2 separate regions of the Homo sapiens genome follow, and region 1 is linked to region 2. The links are contacts of gene promoters, found by promoter capture Hi-C in human tissues and cell types (Jung and others, 2019). All regions are on one chromosome and are shown on one strand. Each heading gives the region's core, a stretch centred on a gene start or on the middle of the fragment in contact. The rest is flanking DNA. Distances are from core to core; before and after follow the strand shown. Region 1 holds the start of AAAS (aladin WD repeat nucleoporin). Region 2 holds the start of SPRYD3 (SPRY domain containing 3).

Region 1 (4,677 bases), core at 2,178-4,677, 240 kb after region 2:
AGTTCGAGACCAGCCTGGTCAAGATGGTGAAACCTCATCTCTATTAAAAATACAAAAATTGGCCAGGTGCGGTGGCTCACACCTGTAATCCCAGCACTTTGGGAGGCTGAGGCGGGCGGATCACAAGGTCAAGAGATCAAGACCATCCTGGCTAACACGGTGAAACCCCATCTCTACTAAAAATACAAAAAATTAGCCAGGTGTGGTGGTGGGCGCCTGTAGTCCCAGCTACTCGGGAGGCTGAGGCACGAGAATGGAGTGAACTCGGGAGGCGAAGCTTGCAGTGAGCCGAGATCGTGCCACTGCACTCCAGCCTGGGCAACAGAGCGAGACTCCGTCTCAAAAAAAAAAAACCAAAAAAATAAAACAAAACAAAAATTAACCAGGCGTGGTGGTGTGCACCTGTAGTCCCAGCTACTCAGAGGCTGAGGCAGAAGAATTGCTTGAACCCAGGAGGCGGAGGTTGCAGCGAGCTGAGATCACGCCACTGCACTCCAGCCTGGGTGACAAAGTGAGACTCTGTCTCAAAAAAAAAAAAAGAATCTACTTCAGGAACCTAGGAAAAAGGTGAAAGTGGCCTGAACTGGTGGGGATGAAGAAAAAGAGACAGATTTGAGAGATTTAGGAATTAGCATAAACAAGATGTGAAGACTAATCAGACATTAGTAAAGGAAAGAGCAATACAACAGAAACACCTAGGTAATAATTACATCAGCTAATATGCTTACAATGTGCCAGCTCTGGACTAGGTGCCTCACATTAACTAATCAAGCCATTATGACAATCCTACAAGATAGGTATTGTTATCACTGCATTTATTTTTATTTTATTGAGACAGGGTCTTGCTCTGTGACCCAGGCTGGAGTGCAATATCACCATCACGGCTCGCTGCAGCCTCAATCTCCTGAGCTCAGGTATTCTTGCCTCGGCCTCCCGAGGAGCTGAGACTACGGGTGCACACCATCATGCCCAGCTAATTTTTAAATTTTTTGTAGAGATGGGGTTTCAGTGTGTGTGTGTGTGTGTGTGCGTGTGTGTGTGTGTGTGTGTGTGTGTGTTAAGACGGAGTCTCACTCTGTCACCCAGGCTGGAGTGCAGTGGTGTGAACTCGGCTCACTGCAACCTCTACCTCCTGGGTGCAAGCAATTCTTGCACCTCAGCCTCCTGAGTAATTAGGATTACACACGGAGTTTCACCACATTGGCCAGGCTGGTCTCGAACTCCTGACCTCAAGTGATACACCCGCCTTGGCCTCCCAAAGTGCTGGGATTACAGGCATGAGCTTCCGCGCCCAGACTATCACTGCATTTTTAGATGAGAGAACAAAGGTGTGAAGAGGCTAATTAATATGAACAAGGTAATCTAAGTAGAAAGTAGCAGTCAGGATTCAACCATCTATCTACCCCAGAACCTATACTCAAACCACTTTTTCCTGAATGAGTAATATGATCATTCCTTAAAGTGAACCATCCAGAGAAGCAGATTTGGAGAGAGAAATAAAGAGACTGGATTTGAGCATGCTGAATATATGAAGTCTGCGAAATATTCAAGCAGGATAATTTGGCAAACACGTGAACACCAGGTCTGATGCATCAACTGGAAATCTAGCCCCAAGAACACCAACATTTAAGGGACATCAGGAAGAGGAGCCACCAAAAACCCTGAGAAGCAGCAGCCACAGAAGTAGGAGACAAGGAGCCTGGGAATGAATGGCTTTTCAACAAACTGATATTCAACTTCACACACACAGGCATGCCCATTAAACTGTACTGAAGTACCAAAGATCAAAGCTTGACAGCACATGTGTTGGAAAACAGGCACTCCCATACACTGCTGGTGGGACCATATACATGTACCATTTTGACAGAGGGCTATTTGGAACAGCTCACAAAATTACAGATGAACATACCCTCTGAGCCAGCAACTTAATTTCTAGGAATTTATCCTACAAATGGTAATGGTATTAATAAAAATATTAAGTAACCCTTTTTTTTTTTTTGAGACAAGGTCTCACTCAGTGCCACTGCACTGGCACAATCTTGGCTCACTACAACCTCCACCTCCCAGGCTCAAGTGATCCTCCTATACATAAGCCTCCCAAGTAGCTGGGAATAAAGGTGCATGCCACCATACCCAGCTAATTTTTGTACTTTTCTTGTAGAGAAAAGAACATGGTTTCGCCATGTTCCCCAGGCTAGTCTCAAACTACTAAGCTCAAGCAATCTGCTGGCCTCAGCCTACCAAAGCGCTGGGATTATAGGCGTGAGTCACTGTGCCTGGCATAAATAACCCTTAAAGGAATTAATATGTGCCATTAATAGGTCCAGGTGCAGTAGCTGTAATCTCAGCACTTTGGGAGGCCAAGGCAGGCCTGAGGTCAGGAGGCCAGACCACCCTGGCCAACATGGTGAAATCTCATCTCTACTAAAATACAAAAAGTTAGCTGGGCGTGGTGGCACATGCCTATAGTACCAGCTACTCGGGAGGCTGAGGCAGGGGAACTGCTTGAACCAGAGAGGCGGAGGCTGCAGTGAGCCGAGATCGCACCTCTGCACTCCAGCCTGGCAACACAGCAAGACTCCGTCTCAAAAAAAAAAAAAAAAAAAAAAAGAAAAAGAAAATGAGCCGGGCGCGGTGGCTCACGCCTGTAATCCCAGCACTTTGGGAGGCCAAGGCGGGCACATCATCTGAGGTCGGAAGTTCAAGACCAGCCTGACCAACATGGAGAAACCCTGTCTCTACTAAAAATACAAAATTAGCTGGGCGTGGTGGCACATGCCTGTAATCCTAGCTACTCGGGAGACTGAGGCAGAAGAATCGCTTGAACCTGGGAGGTGGAAGTTGCAGTGAGCTGAGCACGCCACTGCACTCCAGCCTGGGCAACAAGAGTGAAACTCCATCTCAAAAAAAAAAAAGAAAATGAAACCAGGTAGTGTAGCTCCACTCCTACAAGTGCAAAGTGGATGACCTATGTAGGAGATTATTCAGTGCAACCTTATATCTGATCTTGCTGAGCTTCAGGTAAAAGCTCAGAAGTGGTAATGCCATGAGGTGGGGGCAGGGAGCAGGTTCACCTAATCAAGCCAGAAAGCAAGGCAAGTTACTAGAGATGAAATGGAAGTACTTTTTCCATAGTGTTCCTGGGAAGGGCAAGGAAGGGAACCTGACATTTATTGAGCATTTGAGTTCTATAATAAGGACTAAAAATTTCATATGATTTAGGATATACAGCTCTCGTGGAGACAGCCTGAATAAAAGTCTTTTGAAGAACACCCCAAGGTAAAGGGGTGTTGACTCATTTTCCAGGATCTGCAGACTGTGACCCAGGAAACCCTTTGCCATGCCTCACCAAATGTTGATGCATCTCTTCCACACTTGCTCCCGGTGATGGATGAAGGCAGTTCTTGTGCCATGGTCCAGCCTTCCAGGGGTCTTTAGGGGATCCTTTGTCAGTTGTAGGACAGGAAGATTGATCCACTATAGCACAAAAGTGAGGAGTGTGACGGTGATTCAGTCTCTTCCCAAATCTTTAATTCCGTGCCATCTCCAACCCACCGCTGGGCTAAGTATAAGAGATTCCAGAGGTCTGTTTCCCATTTCCACAAAGCTAACACTTGTGAGAATGGGAAACAAGTCTTAGCTCCCGTATCTGTGCAACTAGAATAATATTTCATAGGGTTGCTGTGATTATGAAACCATATGACATTTTTAGAAAACACCTGACTCAGCCTCTTTCTTACATAGCAAACGCTCAATAAATGTCAGTTTCCCTTCCTTGTCCTTCCCAGGAACACCATGGAAAAAAGTTCCATGTTGTATCCTTCTGATCCTCCCCAGATACTGTCCCCAACTTTTAGATAGTTCTCCCGCATCCTCACACTCCCTAGATTCTCCCTCATTCTCTCCATTCCCTCTAGGCCTCCTCCACAGCTCCTTAACCGTTCCCCCGTTATACTCCAATCCCAGTCCTAAAACAGATTCCAGCCCTTCTAGCCTCCTGCCGGGGCCAAGCTGTTTCCACTCCGCCAGACTCTGTGACCCTGCCCCTGTCACACTGCCTCCTTTCCCCAGTAGTCCCCGACTCCGCCCCCATGCCTGTAGGTCCCCTCCCTCCTCGCCCTGGCCACCTGGCCCCGGAAGTCGGGGGGCGGGCTCTCATAGCTACTGCCCGTCACCAGCTCGTTATTGTGCTCATATAGGGTGACTTGACCCCGAGGCGGTGGAGGAGGGAACAACCCCAGAGAGCACATCTTGCCGGTTCGCAGGACGTCTGCAGTCGGCAAACTCCTGGCCGGAACGGCACAGACCGCACTCCCGCAACTCGGTTCCCGGGCTAGATTCGTATGCGGACGGGTACCGCAAGGGACAAACGGCGAGGCGGAACTCAACGGAAGTGAAGAAAAGACTAACGGGAAAGAAGGACGAGTACGCGGTCCCGGGACAGACCTCCAAAGCTTCTTCCTGCGCCCCCTGGCGGCCGGAGGGGGAGCAGCGCGGACACGTCCCCCGGCCAACCGTTGGTTACCAGGCTGGAGTGGGGTTTTTTTCTGTTGTTTTCCATGAGACTACTGTTTTTCCCAGCTCCGAATTCCCGAACACCTTCTCCCACTCACTATCTTAGCGCTTAGAAAGCCCGAAATAAGCCACATTCAGGGAAGTACCAAATTAATCCTCCCA
Region 2 (5,002 bases), core at 2,119-4,618:
CCAGACCAGTGCAAGCCTGGTTTCTTCATTTCCAGGAGGAAAAGAATGTAGAGCCTCCCTTACTTGCCTAAGAGAGGTCTCACAACCCTGTGTAACCTCAATCTCTCATGCTGCAGCTTCAGCCCTTTTCCTCTGGCTCTGTCCTCAGTGGAGCTGGAGAATAATGGCTGGTCTCTATCCTCTTTACCAAAGCCCTTCATCGATTGGAAGACAGTGATTCAGTTCCCACTCCTCAGCTTTCTTGCCTCTAGTTAAACAGTACTACTTTCTTCCCCCTTCAGTGGAACTCTGTGAGAGCATGGGCTCAGAAGGAGTCAGGGAAGGGGTTCAAGCCAGAAAAGAGGGAGGAAACACACACAAGCTAAGGGGCTGGAAATACAGGAGTTGGTGGACAGGGTACACTATAGAATGGCCCTTCCCCAAACAGGAAATCAACTATCTCTGAAACAGCCACTCTTCACTAGATCTAATCCCTGAGACAGTGGCAGAAGACTCAGTTACCCCACTGGAGTCTTCTCAACAAAGCACCTAGGAAGCTTCTGAGACCCCAGCAGCCTCCTGTGTCTGATGTGATCCCTTCCCCTACCCAGCTGGATCCCCTCCTTGCTGGATGAGGACAGAGCCACCCAGTGACAGAGGCAGAGGTGAGTGCAGGGTGAAGCAGCACACACTGCTCCACTCAGAAAGGCCTCTGGGCGGGTGGATCACTTGAAGTCAGGAGTTCAAGACCTGCCTGGCCAACATGGTGAAACCCTGTCTCTACCAAAAATATAAAAAATCAGCCGTATGTGGTGGTGCACGCCTGTAATCCCAGCTACTTGGGAAGCTGAGGCAGGAGAATCGCTTGAACCCAGGAGGCGGAGGTTGCAGTGAGCTGAGATCACGCCACTGCACTGTAGCCTGGGTGACAGAGCGAGACTCTGTCTTAAAAAAAAAAAAGAAAAAGAAAGGCCTCTGGAGTCAAGAGCATCGCCCTTCCCTGTGCAGTGCACAGTCCCCTTCTCTGAAAAAATAAAAGTTAAAAAAAAAAAACCCTTTCCTCTCTAAGATCTGGAACAGAGAAGAAAATGTGGAAGCATTCTCCTGAACTCACCTTAAAGTATCTCCATCTACAAGGATATGTTTGAACCTCTCCTGATATCGGAAAGCTCGGACCTCTCGAATCTCCCGGATCCGCCGGCGCCAATTCAGAAACCGGTAGTGCAGGTTGAGGTCATCCATCTTGTTCATGAGAACAAACCTGCCAAGGGGAGAAGGGGATTGAGGAGAAAGCAGGGCCCTAGGTAAAGCACCTCAGCCTCTGTGACCCAGAAGGTAGAGAAGGCACTGGCCTTGAGGCCAGCTGCCCAGATTGACCTCAACAACCCTCATCTTCTTTCTTCCATTCAACAAACATTTACCAAGCACCTACTCTGTGTGCTTTTCTCCGTGCTAGGGATGGAGCTGTGAACAAGATGGACAGGATTCCCATTCTCACAGGCTGGGAGGTGGACACGACAGGCAATAAACAGACATAATTTCAGGCAGTGGAGAAAAGAACAGGGTGATATGATAAAGAATCTGGAGGCAGTGGATAGAGTGGACAGAGGCGGTCTCTCTGAGGAGGTGACATTTGAGTTGAAAAGGAGCTAGGCATGACAAGCCAGGCATATTCCAGGCAGGAAGGGCAGCCACAGGTCCTTGGATGGAAGAGAGCTGGCATGGTAGAGAAACAGAAAAAGGCATGGACAGCTGGTATATAGGGAATGTGAGGGAGAATGTACAAGATGAGAATAAGGCAGGAGTCAGATCATGGCCCTACAGACAATGAAATGGTAAGGACTCTGGATTTTATTCCAAGATGGAAATTTCTGGAGGGTTGTAAGCAAGGAAATGCCATGATTGGCTGGGTATGATGGCTCATGCCTGCAATCCCAGCACCTTGGGAGGCTGAGGCAGGAGGATCGCTTGAGGCCAGGACCCAGACCAGCCTGGGCAACGTAGTGAGACCTCATCTCTACTAAAAATTAAAACAATGAGCCAGGTGTGGCAGCATGCACCTGTAGTCCCAGCTACTAAGGAGACTGAAGATGGCTTGAGTCTGGCAGGTCAAGGCTGCAGTCAGTTCTGATTGTGCCACTACATTCCAGCCTGGCTGACAGAGCAAGACCCTGTCTCAAAAAAAAAAGAAAAAAAAATGCCATGATCCTGGGCCTGGTGGCTCACGTCTGTGATCCCAGCACTTTGGGAGGCCGAAGTGGGAGGATCACAAGGTCAGAAGTTGAAGACCAGCCTGACCAACATGGTGAAACCCCATCTCTACTAAAAATACAAACAAATTAGCCAGGCGTGGTGGTGCGCACCTGTAATCCCAGCTACTCAGGAGGCTGAGGCAAGAGAATTGCTTGAACCTGGGAGGTGGAGTTTGCAGTGAGCCGAGATCGTCCCACTGCACTCCAGCCTGGGTGACAGAAACTCCATCTCAAAAAAAAAAAAAAAAGCCACGATCTTAATCAGTTCCTAAAGATCATTCCAGCTGCTGGTTGGAGAACTGATCACAAGAGGATCAAGAACAGATGTGGGCAAACAATTCAGACGTTGTTGCAGCAGTTCACATGAGAAATGACATCCACTAAGTCGGTAGCAGCGCCGATGGATGGGGGTGGGATGATCCAGGTATTTAAACAACCATCAGTCCCTACATATAAATGAATGAATGATTTTTCCTGGGAGCCAAAAGTGAGAAAGAGGTGAAGTACTCTTCTCTTCCCATTCCCTAAACACTGGGACAGGGGTTTTCTTGAGGCCTGACATTGCCTTGCACACGGTAGGTGCTTAGTAAGCCTTGGCTGGGCTGAATTTGATCCCAATACGCAAATTACGACTCTTATGCAGTAGCTACAACCCACCACGTGGCCCAGAAGAGTAGGCACCTGTGGGACAGACAGCCCTAAGATTCCACTCCCGGGCACTCAGCCAGGACTCAACCCCAGGTAGATGCTGGTTGCGCAGACCCCACAGTCTTGGCACCGGCGAGTGGCGGCCCTACTGGGCCCTGTCTCCTCCCCGGGCACGGCCTGATCACTGAGATGAGACCCGGGAGCAGCCGGGCCCCAGCCCATCCGTGTGCCTACGCCCAGTCTCCCCAGGCCCTGCACTGGGCCGAGGGTGCAGCAACAGAAGAAGCCCAGTGACCAGAGCGCAGGGCCCCGCCCCTGGCCCCAGAGCCCCCGCCCAGGACCCCCGCCTTCCGCTTCAGGCTCCGGGGAGATACGAGGCCTCCGGGACCCCGCCCCCGATCCCCGCCTACCGGGGCCGCCGCGTCCTCCTCATCCATAGGCCTCTCAGCTCCGCACACAAGCTCTTCGGCCGCCGCCACCACACACATCCGGGTCCCCGCCTTTCCTTCACTCCTAGAGGCCCGCCCCGTCCCCCATCTAAGCCAATCAGCAACGGCCTCTGACGACGGGCACCTGCAGGAGCCAATCGGAAGGCGCAGGCAGGGTGTGGGGCGCGGCCCGGTGCCCTGGGTACCCAGCTCAGGGCCCCGGTCTGGTCAACCCGGCTGTTGCTGGGGTGAGCGAAGGCGACGTGGCAGCGCGGACGCTGCTGGGTGCCTGGGCGCCGCTGAGGCGGACAGGGGGCGGCTCTTGAGCGGCGCCGGGGAGACGGGACGGGCGGAGAAGGTGGCCACGCTCGCACAAACGTTGCGAGTATTACTTGAGCCCTCCTTCCGCGCTGGACTGAAATAAAAGCTTTACCGGAATGTCCATTTAATCCACGGTGCAGCCTTATGAAATAAATCTTATCTCCTTTTTACGGATGGGCCGAAGGCTGGCCTCGATAGCCTGCGCGCTTAACTGTTATGCTGTGTACCCTCCCGAGCTCTGTTTCATGGCACCGCTCGCTCATTATTGGCAAGAACATTCCATTCCAGGAGGAGAGAACTGGGGATGCAGAAGGCACAGTGGCACGAAGCGGCATTCTGTGGAGGAACACAGGGCTTTGGTAGGCTGAAGGAAAGTTAGACTGGGGTTAGAATGTGAAGGGACGAAGACACGAATATTTATTGAACACCTACTAGGGAGTGCCTACCTGCCATTCTGGGGGGTTGGACTCCTAGATGAGGACTTCCTTGCTCCCTTCCCATCACCATATCTCTCTCTTCTGGACGGAAAAGATTCCTCTCCTCTGTAGCACCTCATTTATAATACTTTTTTTTTTGAGACGGAGTCTCACTCTGTCGCCCAGGCTGGAGTGCAGTGGCGCGATCTCGGCTCACTGCAAGCTCTGCCTCCTGGGTTCACGCCATTCTCCTGCCTCAGCCTCCCAAGTAGCTGGGACTACAGGCGCCCGCCACCACGCCAAGCTAATTTTTTTTGTATTTTTGGTAGAGACGGGGTTTCACCGTGTTAGCCAGGATGGTCTCGATCTCCTGACCTCTTGATCCGCCCACCTCGGCCTCCCAAAGTGTTGGGATTACAGGCGTGAGCCACCGCCCCCCGCCATTTATAACACTTATTACCGTCTTGCTTTCGTTATTGGAGTTACTTGTGTGTGTAGACCCGTCTCTGCTAGACTGTGAGCTCCTTCAGACCCCAGACTATTCTATTCTTATCACACTAGGTACTCTAACGTGTTGAGTGCCAGGAAAGCCATCAGCTCGCATACCGTGAATAGTGCCCACTCGGCATAACGGCAATGGGTGATAGGAATAGATGAGATGGGAAACAGAGAAACCCGGATTAGAGCCCCAATTCTGTGTGACTAAAAGGTCAAGGTCTTGGTGTTCTCATCCCTAAACAAGAATTATTGAAGTATGTGTTCTTTTAGCTCCCTTCCAGCCCCTGGATGACTCAGTTCTGAATAGCTACCCTTCCAACTCATCTCCACCTCCTTTTGATTCCCTCATTGCTTCTCCTCCGCTCCTCTTCTTGTGTTATGAAAATACCTCAACACTGAGCTCAGCTCTTCCCAAAGGCAGCCAGAGAGGGACAATCTTAGGAGGCTGCCAGAGTCATGT

Evidence for each region. The method cuts DNA at HindIII sites, captures the fragments that hold promoters and counts their contacts. A contact is called where the count stands out against the background at its distance.
Region 1: a fragment that was not itself captured here is called in contact with the fragment with the promoter of SPRYD3 in region 2 in 2 of the 25 tissues and cell types used here (dorsolateral prefrontal cortex and liver).

The regions. Positions count from the first base shown.
Region 1 is chr12:53,317,216-53,321,892 of GRCh38, forward strand. It overlaps AAAS (aladin WD repeat nucleoporin), which reads right to left and starts at 4,395. Exons shown (of 16, transcript NM_015665.6): 1 at 4,128-4,395; 2 at 3,350-3,477. The coding sequence starts at 4,250. RefSeq lists enhancers at 2,934-3,023, 4,242-4,431, 4,512-4,561. The HindIII fragment of the contact is 4,789 bases long and covers 1,034-4,677 here.
Region 2 is chr12:53,076,022-53,081,023 of GRCh38, forward strand. SPRYD3 (SPRY domain containing 3) reads right to left here and starts at 3,369. Exons shown (of 11, transcript NM_032840.3): 1 at 3,290-3,369; 2 at 1,094-1,240. The coding sequence starts at 3,312. RefSeq lists a silencer at 3,070-3,349. The HindIII fragment of the contact is 7,407 bases long and covers 1-5,002 here.